Regions from separate parts of the Homo sapiens genome. Here all the other regions are linked to region 1. The links are contacts of gene promoters, found by promoter capture Hi-C in human tissues and cell types (Jung and others, 2019). All regions are on one chromosome and are shown on one strand. Each heading gives the region's core, a stretch centred on a gene start or on the middle of the fragment in contact. The rest is flanking DNA. Distances are from core to core; before and after follow the strand shown.

Region 1 (4,217 bases), core at 879-3,378:
GGGGGGGTAAGGGGTGGTGATCCTGCCAAATAGGCTAGGAACACTGTTAAACATACTACAATGTATAAAACAGCCTTTCCACCACAAAAAAATTATTCAGTTCAAAATATCTATAATGCCAAGATTGAGAAGCCCTGATCTAATCCAATAAAAGTACCATACTCATCATAGATTATTTATGTAATATAACGTAATAGGCAATATCATATTTTTGAGACCACACACTGAGTTCAAAGGTCTTGAATCTAAAAGCACAACAAAGAATTATATTCCTGGCCAGGCACGGTAGCTCATGCCTGTAATCCCACCACTTTGAGAGGCTGAGGCAGGTGGATCACGAGGTCAGGAATTCGAGACCAGCCTGACCAACATGGTGAAACCCTGTCTCTACTAAAAATACAAAAATTAGCCTGGCATAGTGGTGCGTGACTGTAATCCCAGCTACTCAGGAGGCTGAGGCAGAAGAATCGCTTGAACTTGGGAGGTGGAGGTTGCAGTGAGCAGAGATCACACCACTGCACTCCAGCCTGGGTGACAGAGTGAGACTCCATCTCAAAAAAAAAAAAAAAAAAAAAAAAAGAATTCTATTCCTTAACCTAATCTTGCTCAATGTAATCAGCTGCAAAGTATTAAACTTTTAAAAAGACCATTAAGAATAAATCTACTTTCTATTTTTAAACAAAATAGAAACTTCACAAACTCATATATTTTATTACCCTCTGTTAGTTGTTCACATAATATGGTATTCCAGGAACTTAAGCAAATCTCATCTTCCAAGATTCTATGGTCCAACTCATGCTAAAACCAATTCAAAATGAAAACATTTTGGAAATTAAAGTACCTATTGTAGTCTAGGAGTCAGCAGACCTTGGTTTTAGGCTTGAGCCCATCAATGCCTGTGTGACCTTAGAGAGATCCACTTAGCATTATCTTCTGCACAGCCATGTAAGAATTAAATAAGGTATGAAATCTATCACTTATCTTCTGACAATGTCATAAATTACTCACAGGAACCCTCTCCCGAATTTTGCTAATCCTGTGGTTTTCTGATATTTAACGTAATATTCCTCCTACCTATGGTGCTCATTAGTGAAAGTATAGAAATGCTTCTCTTGGTTATTAGTCACATCTCGGATGCGTTTATATACGGGGGCACTGCGATTTCTCACTTCTTGAAGAACTGTTTGTAGCACAATTACATTCCTGATGGCAGGGTCCTCAAGAACATCAATCTTAAAGAAAGATAAAGTTAATTTTTCCTATATTCATTTGTAAATAGCTCTGTCAAACATAAAATCCTGTTTTATGTTGGGCATAAATACTTTATGTTTTAAAAACACTGAATAAGTTAAGCCAAGAAGCTATTTGGCTATAGAAAACGAGACAATAGTCACTAAACCCTTCAGATCTATTAAAAAAAGCACACTTAAACAGACCAATCACAAGACTTCGTAGAATTAAGGGTATTAATAAAGGAATACGTTGGCCCACATAGTTTTTTGTTCCTAGGCACTTACAAGCTGCCTGGGAGTCGCAGGCTGGAGGCCACAGAAGCCCAGGTCCCCGGCCTCCAGGCACTTACAATCTAAGGCAGAAGAGACACCAGGAGTTAGAAAAATAACGTGTCTGAACTACGACTCCAAGAACTAAATTTTTTAAAGCACAAGGAAAAGAACCTCGGCCTGGGGAACAGGAAGCTTCGGTCCCGAGGGGGTTTCCCTTTCGCTAGGTATGTGACACTGCCAAAGACCCGCCTCCCTGGGCCTCAGTTTCCCTGTCATACCCCCTTGTCCCCGTGGGGCCGCGCTGTCCGCGGTTCGCCCGCCCACGCACCTGGTGCAGTAACACATTAGTGTCGGGCAGCAAGTAGTGCGGTTGCGGGCAGACGCTGCTCGCCGGGTCCTGGGGCTGCGGCTCCAGGGCCGGCCCCTCGTGCGCCCCTCCACACGCTGCGCACCCGGGCGCACCGCAGCCGATGTCGTCTCGCAGGTAGTGCTCGCGCACGATCTTCATCACGCCGCCCGCCCGGGTCTTTTTTAAGAACGTCTTGGACTTGAGCATCTTGCCTCGCCGCGCAGAATCCTAACCCCAGCAGCGCTCTTCCAGCAAAAGGCGTCAATCTAGAATACGCCTAACCCCGGAGGTTCTTCCCTTTCCATTCCCGGATATTAGTAACACTTCTCGCGGGAAAATGCCGAGATAAACATTGGTTGGCTCTCTGACGGCCGCGGGGATTGGGCGAGAGTGGGGAGGGGCGGCAAAGCAAGGCGAGGAGCCATTTCCGCCCGTGGCCTAGGCGGGGCTTCCTTCTGGACGCCACCTCACAACGTGTGTTGCTTTCCGCTCCTCGGAACATCCGGGAGAGTTGACTTCCGGCGGCTTGTGGGAGTGCTGGTTCTGTCCTCCTTGCGGGTGCGGAGATGGTTGTCTTGGTTACGGGTCCTAACGGTCCCCTGCCTTGAAATCCCTTGTTGAGGGCCTGCAACCTTGTGCTTCCGACCGGAGACGCCTTTGGTCCCTCGGTGTCTGCACTGGCTGCTGGTCAAGGCTTCAGTGTGGAGTAATTGACACTTTCGAGGTAACTTGCGACTATCATCGCTTTCTTTCCCGCGTGGGGCAAGGAATCCCCCGAGCTGCCAAGTTTGGGGCTTAATTTTCACGCCGAGTGTATAGGCAGTCCCCGTCTCGGGCCCTTTGTAATCGAGGAGAGAATTTGTCTTTGAATTCACTTTTTCTTACCTATTTCCCTTCAAAAAGAAGGAGGGAGGCCGATCTTAGTATAGTTCTCGCTGTTTCCCCTCCACACACCTTTCCTTATCATTCAGTTTAGAAAAACTGAAATATTTAATAGCATAATTTGTTATATCATGAGGTATTAAAACAAGGTAGTTGCTAACATTCTTATGAGAGAGTTAGAAGTAAGTTCTATTTAGAATTTCTTGAATTTTTCTTATATCCTGTTGTTTTCATTCTGCTATCTATAAAAAATGTTTTTGTCCCCGTTTTCCCTATTTAAAACATCTTCAATGATGCCTCATTGCCTGTAGAATAAAATCCAACCCTATTTTGACATTTAAGGCCTTCCAGTCTTGATCGTTAAGGGCGTGTGTGTGTGTGTGTGTGTGTGTGTGTGTGTTTGTGTTTGTGTTGGGGGGGCGGTGAAAGGAGTAACTATTCCAAGACTTGGCTTTGTTTTTTTACTTCCACTTACGTATCATTAATAACTGCATGATTTCTCCTTTTTACCATGCCTGTCCAAATCTTTAAAGATTCTAAGTGCTACCTCTGTGTAACGTTTCCCTGACCAACTCAGACGTGATTTCTGTTATCTTTGAGCATGTGTTGGTTTTAGTGGTGCCATTCTTGATTATAATGGGCTTTTTTCTTCATCTTGTACATTTCTTTGTTTCCTCCAAGTAAGATTCCTCCCCGCAGGAACTGTTTTTTTAAGTTTCTCGAAGGCTGACTTCATATTAGGAATTAATGTGTTTGATTTGAGCATTAACTTAACTGCAATAATCTGTTCTAGATTTGGGATGCACTAAATTGCCTAATATTTATTTAAGGAATCCTTAGTCTCTCTTTAATACAGTCCATGATTTCTGTAGTTAATTTTATAGTACATTTGAATTAATGTTTTTTAACCTACAGAATATTAAAATCAAATTAGAGAAGAAAACTGATCCATAATAATAAAAATGTCTCGAAAAATTTCAAAGGAGTCAAAAAAAGTGAACATCTCTAGTTCTCTGGAATCTGAAGATATTAGTTTAGAAACAACAGTTCCTACGGATGATATTTCCTCATCAGAAGAGCGAGAGGGCAAAGTCAGAATCACCAGGCAGCTAATTGAACGAAAAGAACTACTTCATAATATTCAGTTACTAAAAATTGAGCTATCCCAGAAAACTATGATGATCGACAATTTGAAAGTGGATTATCTTACAAAGGTAAGATCAGGTTTAAATTTTGTGTTCTATATGCTTTATTGTCTTCAAACGGCAGGTAAATAAGAATTAAATACACACATTATCTGAACTTGAAATGATACATTTATATTTCTTGACAAGTACAGCCTTTAAATAATTTTGGTGTTCATAGAAGTAGAGAATAGAATGGTGGTTACCAAGGGCTGGCATGGTTAGGGGTGAAGGAGGGTTGGGGAGATGTTGGTCAAAGGATACATAATTACAGTTGAATAGGAGGAATACATTCAA
Region 2 (4,217 bases), core at 983-3,482, 1.1 Mb after region 1:
CCCCACTAGAACACTAGCTCCTGAGGCACAGTGTTTCTGTTTCTCATCACTGTACCCTCAGGACTGAGCTCACTATCAGGCACACAGTGTTTGTTGCATAGACTACTTTTGTTTTGCATTTTCACACTTTCTTCTTCCCATAGTCTAGTCTCGCCTCTCCTTACACGTCACTTAGTCATCAGTTTGGTAGTCAGCAAGTCATTTTAGGGTTTCCTTCCTTGGAGAAAATCCTTCCACATGTAAATCTAGCAAAAACCAGCTGATGCAGCACTTGGGAGCCACAGTCCAGCTACAGGAACGAGGGCTAGTCCTCGGGTTTGCCATAATTTTAACCATCAACTGTAAATCACAGTGCACATTTCATTCAGCTTGATGGTGTGTGACAAGGCCAGAAGGAGAAGCATTTAGTGGATCTAAGCATGAATAAGAAAACTCTTTCCTTCCTACCAATACAATGACCAAGAGACTCCTCAGTCCTCTGTTACTCACAGAGTATACTGCTCCTCTCACATAGTGAGAAAGGGAGAACTGGACTGGATGGGCTAATAAATAAAATAAAGCTTTCATGTTGGCAATGACCAAAGTAACAAATTTAAACTTGGCAAAAAGACAGAAACCTTTTAATACCTTTAAAATAAAAAGATTTTTATTTTTAGAAAGCACTTTTTAAATATAAATTAATATCACCTTCATTATATTTTTATTTCAGCTTTTATTATTTGAAGTATAACACTTTTAAAACTGTACAAGTAGCATGGGCCAAATTTCTAAACATGGTGATACAAACATATTATAATTGCATCTGGAACAGCTTTATAAACATTTTTCTATTAAAAGAAAAGTTTTTTTTAAAAAGGAGGAGCAGAGTCAACTGTTTTATAAGAAATCATTTATACTGCATATCCATGAATTAAACAAATTTATTTTTAATCTTTGCTGGTCGCTGGCCAGCCCAGCTCTGAGTCTTTAAGCTGACTGGCTTATTCCTGCCAACATCAATAAATGTTCCCTGGCACCTTTGCCTTCCATCCTATACCCCAAACCACTTTGCTCTGACCTACCTTAAACCCTATTTTCTGACTTATTTCTGATATCTGCTCCTGATCCCTTGAATTTCCTTTTCCAGGTCCTTCTCTGGCACCCGGGTTTACCACCTCTGAGAGACCCACTCTCCCTATGTGGCTCACTCTGCTGTGAGTCTGGGCAGACATGAGAAGACCAACCCACTCGTCCCCTGGGACCCTAGGCTTGCTGCAGGCGTTCATCAGCAGGGGGTGGTTGTGCTTATTAAAGCCCCAAGAATTTCACCAAAGTGAGGCATTTTCACTAACTCCTACCTTGACTGTTCTGAGAATAGTACACATAGCAGGCACTCAAATAGATGTGGAGAGAGCCAAATAACTTTTTTTTCATTAAGAAACAAACATCTATAAAGTTACAGAAAAAAACAAATTCTCTGGCTGGCTTTTGATAATCAGTATGAGTTGCACGGGTGAAGCAAATTTAAACAAGGTTGGAGAACGCCTCTGTGAAGGACCTTCTTCCCCACAATCATTCTTCAACAGGAAAAAATGCAAGAGACAGCACACGGGGCTATTCTAGCACAGTCTCTTCCTTCAAGAGAGCTCTCATCTGTTACGTTAGCAAAAATATAGTTTCTTTAGTAAATGGTCTGGGTGGGGGGTGATGGGCAGGGGAACTATGTGTTTTCCATTTATGTTTTCATCTTTTTTTTTCCTTTTGGGATCCTACATTTCCCCTCTTGCTCGTTTTTGCTTTCATTGAAGAATTCCCAAAAGTAAGTTTTCCATTTTACATTCTGTATTAGTTTCCTAATGCTTATATAACAAATTACCACAAATGGAATGGCTTAAAACAACAGAAACTTATCCTATTTTAATTCTGGAAGCCTGAAGTCCAAAATAAGTCTTCTGGGGCTAGCAGGGAGGCATCTGCAGGGCTGGCTCTCTCTGTAGGATCCAGGTGAAAATCCATTCTTAGCCTCTCCCAGCTTCCAGTGGCTGCTGGTATTCCCTGGCTCCTGTCTGCGTCACTCCAATTTCTGTTCCATCCTCACACTGTCTTCTCTTCTGTAGCCAAATCTTTTCCTGCTTCCCTCTTACAAAGGCCCTTGGGATTTCACTTAGGGCCCGCCCAGATAATTCAGGATAATTTCTCTATCTCAAAATCCTCAACATAATTGCATCTGAAAAATTTCTTTTGCGGATGATAAGGTGACATGCACAGGTTCCAGAGATTAGGACATGGATATCTTTAGAGGTCACTATTCAGCCTCCCACAGCCTCATTTCCGTAGAAGTGTTGCCTTTCCAAGATTGCCTGCCTGCCTGCCTGAGCCCCACACACAAGACGTTACACCCTTTCCCTGCAGTCGCTGCTCTGATATACCCAGGCTTCTTTTTCAGTTTTGTTTCTTTTTTTTTTTGAGATGGAGTCTCGCTCTGTCGCCCAGGCTGGAGTGCAGTGGCACGATCTTGGCTCACTGCAAGCTCCACCTCCCAGGTTCATGCCATTCTCCTGCCTCAGCCTCCCAAGTAGCTGGGACTACAGGCACCTGCCACCACGCCCAGCTAATTTTTTTGTATTTTTTTTTTTTTTTTTTTTTTTTAGTAGAGACTAGGTTTCGCCGTGTTAGCCAGGATGGTCTTGATCTCCTGACCTCGTGATCCACCCGTCTTGGCCTCCTAAAGTGCTGGGATTACAGGCGTGAGCCACGGCGCCTGGCCTTTTTCAGTATTTTTGAATTTAGGATTGACTTTCTCTCTTGATGGTGGATTTCAGCTCAATTACATCTTCTCTTTTCCATGCAATTTTTCTAAAAACTCAGCTCTCCACAAAGACTTGAGAAGGAAACTTGAGAAATCTCTTTTCCAGAAGTTAGTGTTTACCTTTCTACTTATGGAGAGTTTAAAATTTGTAGTGTTCTCTGTCTTCCTCTCATGCCAAAAACATGGAGTTTTATGATTTTATCTGTTCTGTTCTTATTGATCTTGCATAGATTTTTAGAGGATTGGAATAATTTGGCTTTCATAATTAAAAAGCATAAATCCTGTATGAAACAGGCAAATAAACAGTACTCCAACTTGGGGAAGAGCTAATACTTACACACACACACACACACACACACACACACACGCACACGCACACACACACACACACACAGCTTTAAAGTGTTAATAATTTTACATAATCGCTGACACTTTGAATAGTTATTCATAGAAATAACAATTAATTAAAAGATACAGCTTTATTGAATTCCAGAACTGGGATAGAGCACAAGAACCAGAGCTATCAAACATCTAGTAAATATCTCTGCCTCACTATAGCAGAGGAGCCACGAGGTTATTTCTTCTGCAAGTATCTACCCCACAACACCCCAGAATCCTCAAAAGTAAAAAACTGAATGAAATTAATGTCATTATGTTGAATGTAGCACTTTTGGTACAATGCTTTATATAGCCAATATAAATAAACACTGTCAATGTCTTTGCCTCCTATTCTCTGCCTGTAAAACAGCAATCATAATATTTAAGTAAGAACCATCTGAGAAATGTTATGATGAATTAGCCAGAGTCTGTAAGTTACTTTGCAGTGAGGGCTTAAGTATGATCATTTAGGTTTGATGTATGGAGTGAGAAGGTAGAAGCTTTAGTGACAGACTGTAGTCACATAAATTAATATATTAATATTTAACAAAGAAATGGGAGATGAGGAATTGGGATGTCTGCATCTTCTACACTGTAAGTGCAAGGACTGACTTTGAGCTCCTGTAGTTATATAATTGTCCTTATTTGTTAACTTCATCTGTCCCCAATTAACAGGTAAAAAACATATTCAAAGCAGTAAATGGTGTCAGCGGTTATTTTGAAGGTAGGGACATGCACACTAATATTCCGTAGGCCACTCTTGTGCTCAACTAGGTCACAGAATGGCCATCTCTTTAAATCAAACTTTGCAGCTACTGTCCAAATTTGGACGAGCATCACCAAAAATTCACTATCCAAGGTTCAGCATGGATTATATACCAAGTGTCTGATTGGCCCTGCCTTAAAAGGAAACATTCCATTTTCTTAGTGTCCATTTTATCTGCTACAAAAATGATTACTTTATAAATGCTATAAAAAACTCAATACATAGCATTTGTACTAGGAGACAGGCACTTACTATACTAATAAATCTCAACACCTTTCCTGGTAC
Region 3 (4,217 bases), core at 656-3,155, 1.1 Mb after region 1:
TACTTACAACAGTGCTAATATTAGCACTCCCTACATATTAAGGGAGTTCTAAAAATCCAATTATTAAATGCACACTGCTTGACACAAAATAGTTAAAATTAGTTGTGGTTGTTATTTTTTGTTTCAGTTATTATTTTATCTATTTTACTGTAGTGCTAAAACTAGAATATCCGATAGTTTGTATTATTCCTGCCTCCCATAAAATGATGCCATCTTTGATTATTCAATAAATTACATAGTATACTGTAGGGTCAAATATTAGAATATGTTCATCTGGTGCAGACAGGCAAATACTAGAGATGCACAGTTTTCTAGTTTTAAACTTCTGGGGCCATACATATTCAGGAATTCAAACTTTTGGTAGGTTTTTTAGAAGGTAATAGCACCCCGCCAGGAGGGCTTGGGGTGGAACTGGATACTCCAACACATTAATATCTCTGCAGTAAAACACATGAACATTTACACTGAGTGTTATAAAGACTATAAATACTTGTATGTCAGTTTAGTACAGTTTTTAATTCTAAATAAGTATTTTTTCAGAATTTTTAAGGATTTTAGATTATAGATAAGAAGTTGTGGAAATGGATTAAATAGAATGATACAACTAACCTTGATTCTACAGTTTTCCATTAATAATATACTACATGTCATAACATTATAGGGTAAGATAACTGGGGAGTTAAAAATTCCTCTTGGTTTACATAAAATATCCCTGAATAATTTGTAGTAAATGGAATTCTAAATAGCAATTCAAGTTTAAGTAATTACTCCCTAATTTTTAAAAGGGTATGGCAGATATCCTGATTTGTATAAAGTGACATACAGATAGCATTACCCATTTTATACTTGGTTTCAATTAGGAATTAATTTCTCTCATAGTTGTACTTTACCAGTGAGTGGGATTAAATTATTAGATTTAAGGATTTAACAAACTATTAAATTCCTCAGTGCTGATCAGTAGATGAAGCAGAACATAAGCAATATGATTGGAAATGGAGCTGAGTTCTCTAGGGAAAAAACACTGGTCTATATCTATTATCTTCCCACAGATACACAACAATTATATCAGATTGTAAATAGTCCCCAGTATGAGGTAGAAAAAAATCTGATGCATATTTATAAAAGACTGAAGGAAAGCGTTTATATCATTCACTGATCAGAGTAAGGAAAATATTATTGACTATAAATCCAAAATATTCAATCCAAAAGATTTTAAATTACAAAGGAGTTCAAAAGTTAGTCTAACTGCCTGGGTAAAATGTGCTGAAAGTTCTGTTCAACAGAAACATCAATCAACACAAAATTCATCATTCAGGAAGTGCTAAATTTTCATTAATCACTGACATGAGAAGATCACAGTAGAATGAAGGAATATATATGCGATAAAAGTGGTACATAAAAGACCATAAAAATAAGAATTTTGAAGAGGACTTAATGTTGTCAAGTCTGAATAAGGTTAGAGTAATAGTTTTCAATCCAATATAAAATTAAGGAGTAAATAACAAGTAAACAGGTTTAAAAGCTTCAATTGTCCAAGTACAGGTATAAGGAAGTCTGACAGAAAATATATGATGAAAGACATATACAGTTATATAATAAAAACAACAAATAAAAAATCAAGGCCCCTTCCACTAAACAAAAAAGGAGTCTATAATAAGTCAAATGTTAAGGTCAACTTGATTGCCTAAATTCCAGACATAACTTTGTGCTTTCTGTTAGGATAAAAAGAAATAACATGAGTAGCTCTATAATCACATTATCTCAGTAGTGAGCTGTATACATTTCTTACCATTGTTTCAAAAACCACATTAAACTGCAAATCTTTTTCATGAGGAGCTTTATGAAAGGGACCCAAAGTGATGACATGCAAAATAATCTGGACAATTTATAGCACGTAAAATGTGGAAAAAGAAAAGCCCAAATTTCATTTCAGCCAAGGCAGAGTAGTTTGTATTAAATCAACTCTCATATTAGAAACAGTAACAAAACTAGATTAAATTTGTAAAAGTGCATTTTAAGACACTGGAGAGCAACTAAAACAATCAGAACTTTAAGGTCCAAGATCCAAGAAGGAAAGAAACACAAGAAAAGGAACTATCAATGTATATCATTTTTTCCTTGAGGCATAATCACAACGTCTGCTATTCACTTAAATTACAAAATATTTCAGAATACTATCCCAAATTACTTAAAACTAAAAGTAGAGGAATAGATAAGAACAAACTAAAAGGAGAGAAATAGATAAGAAAAATAAGAACAAATTAAAAATTTTTAGAGTTATCCAACATGTACTTTAAAATAACAATCATAAAATGCTTAACAGATAAGAAAATTGTACTCCAAAACTGCAGTCTACAAAACCAAACAAAAACCTAGTCAAATATAGATTCCAAAAGCGAAAAATACAGTATTTGAATTGAAAACCTGACACTTGTGTTTGACAGCAGAAGGACATAGAAATGATTAATGAACTGAAAAATGAATGAGCAAAAATGAGAACGTAGTTCAAGTGGGAGTAGTAAGATACTTTAAAAAGCATAAAACAGGCCCAACACAGTGGCTCACGCCTATAATCCCAAAACTTTGGGAGGCGGAGGTGGGTGGATCCCTTGAGGCCAGGAGTTTGAGACCAGCCTGGCCAACAGGGCGAAACTCCATCACTACTAAAAATACAAAAATTAGCCGGGAATGGTGGTGGGCGCCTGTAATCCAGCTACTCGGGAGGCTGAGGTGTGAGAATCTCTTGAACCTGGAAGGCAGAGGTTGCAGTGAGCTGAGATCACGCCACTGCACTCCAGCCTGGGCGACAGAGCAAGACTGCCTCAAAAAACAAAAGAAAACAAAACAAAAACACACAAGACACACAGGAAAGGTATTACATGTGTGTAATTGGAGGCCCAGAGGAGTGGAGAGAAAGAATAGGGAAACAGGGCACAGCAACATTGAAAATACTGGCCAGATATTTTCTGAAAGACATTTTGCTGTACAATTCAAGAATCTGTAAATCCCAAGCAATATAAATTCAAAAGAAACTACTCAAAAGTAGTCAGTGAAAAGATGACCTCCCAAAGAGTAACTATTTGAAGAGTTACTTCTCAACAAAATGACAGAACCAGAAGACAACAGGATAGGTTTACATTCTGAAATAAAAAAAAATAAAACAATTGACAACTTTGATACTTTTCTATCAAAAATGAAGACAAAATACAAACATTTTAAATAAAAACAGAGCATTCATGGCTAACAGACCATGTAAAAAGAAGTACTAAAAAATTTCTTCAGGCCCAAGGAAAATCATCCCTAATATAGAAATATGGAAATACAAGAAAGAAAAAAGAGCAAAGGAAAAGGTAAATATGTACATAAATCTAACTGAGTAATGAAGACATCTTGCTAGGCTAATAATATACTGTCTTAACAATAATTATATTTTGAGGTTTAAAATGTGGGGCAAAAAGGGGGGGGGGAATTTATAGAGTTAAAATGTCCCAAGATCTCTGCATTGTCTAGAAATTAAGTAAAAGGATTAAACTATGGTGAGCATGAAAATGCCACAGGGGCAATGTAATTTATAGGATAAACCACTGAAAATAATATTTACACTAAAGAGAAGGTAGGGAAAGGAAATTTTAAAATATCAGGAAAAAGGGAATAAAAAGCATACAGTGTGATGGTATAATGTACAGTACTACATTCTGCAATTAAGTAGTCTAGTTTTTATGGTTTTAAAATTATAGCTTCGATTTTTAAGAAAAACTTAAATGTAGTAACTCTTAAATATAAGAAAATAAAAGTTGAAAGTAAATGAATGAAAAAAACACTAGGCAAATACAAAGCAAAAGAAGGTTGGTACAGTTATAGTCATACTAGGGAAAAAAGATGGTAAGCTAGAATAATTACTAGAAACTAAAAAGGACAGTTTACTGACAAAAGAACCACTCCAACAGGAATATATACATACATACATACATATATACGTGTGTGTGTATATATATATATATACACACATACATATGACATATATATGTCAATTTATAAAAATAGTCTTAAAAAGCAAAGGCATAAAGAACTAAAATGAGTAATAGACAAGCCTACAAATATAGTGTGAGATTTTAGCATAACTCACTCAGTAACAGATAGACAAAGAGAAAAAGTTAGCAGGGCTATAGAAGACAGGGGGAAAAAAAAATTAACAAACTTATCTTACTTATTTAGAA

Evidence for each region. Contacts are between HindIII fragments. The study calls those that stand out against the background at their distance.
Region 2: a fragment that was not itself captured here is called in contact with the fragment with the promoter of DIS3 in region 1 in 1 of the 25 tissues and cell types used here (lymphoblastoid cells).
Region 3: a contact is called between a fragment that was not itself captured here and the fragment with the promoter of DIS3 in region 1, in 1 of the 25 tissues and cell types used here (lymphoblastoid cells).

Annotation. Positions count from the first base shown.
Region 1 is chr13:72,779,772-72,783,988 of GRCh38, forward strand. DIS3 (DIS3 exosome endoribonuclease and 3''-5'' exoribonuclease) reads right to left here and starts at 2,129. Exons shown (of 21, transcript NM_014953.5): 1 at 1,834-2,129; 2 at 1,075-1,232. The coding sequence starts at 2,061. It overlaps PIBF1 (progesterone immunomodulatory binding factor 1), which reads left to right and starts at 2,362. Exons shown (of 18, transcript NM_006346.4): 1 at 2,362-2,578; 2 at 3,652-3,950. The coding sequence starts at 3,699. RefSeq lists enhancers at 1,321-2,235, 2,153-2,262 and a silencer at 1,823-1,872. The HindIII fragment of the contact is 9,401 bases long and covers 1-4,217 here.
Region 2 is chr13:73,913,086-73,917,302 of GRCh38, forward strand. The region is part of intron 3 of KLF12 (KLF transcription factor 12); the gene reads right to left. Among named protein-coding and RNA genes, the nearest start is that of KLF12, 220 kb to the right of the region's middle. The HindIII fragment of the contact is 4,104 bases long and covers 181-4,217 here.
Region 3 is chr13:73,863,429-73,867,645 of GRCh38, forward strand. The region is part of intron 3 of KLF12 (KLF transcription factor 12); the gene reads right to left. Among named protein-coding and RNA genes, the nearest start is that of LINC00393, 200 kb to the left of the region's middle. The HindIII fragment of the contact is 7,129 bases long and covers 1-4,217 here.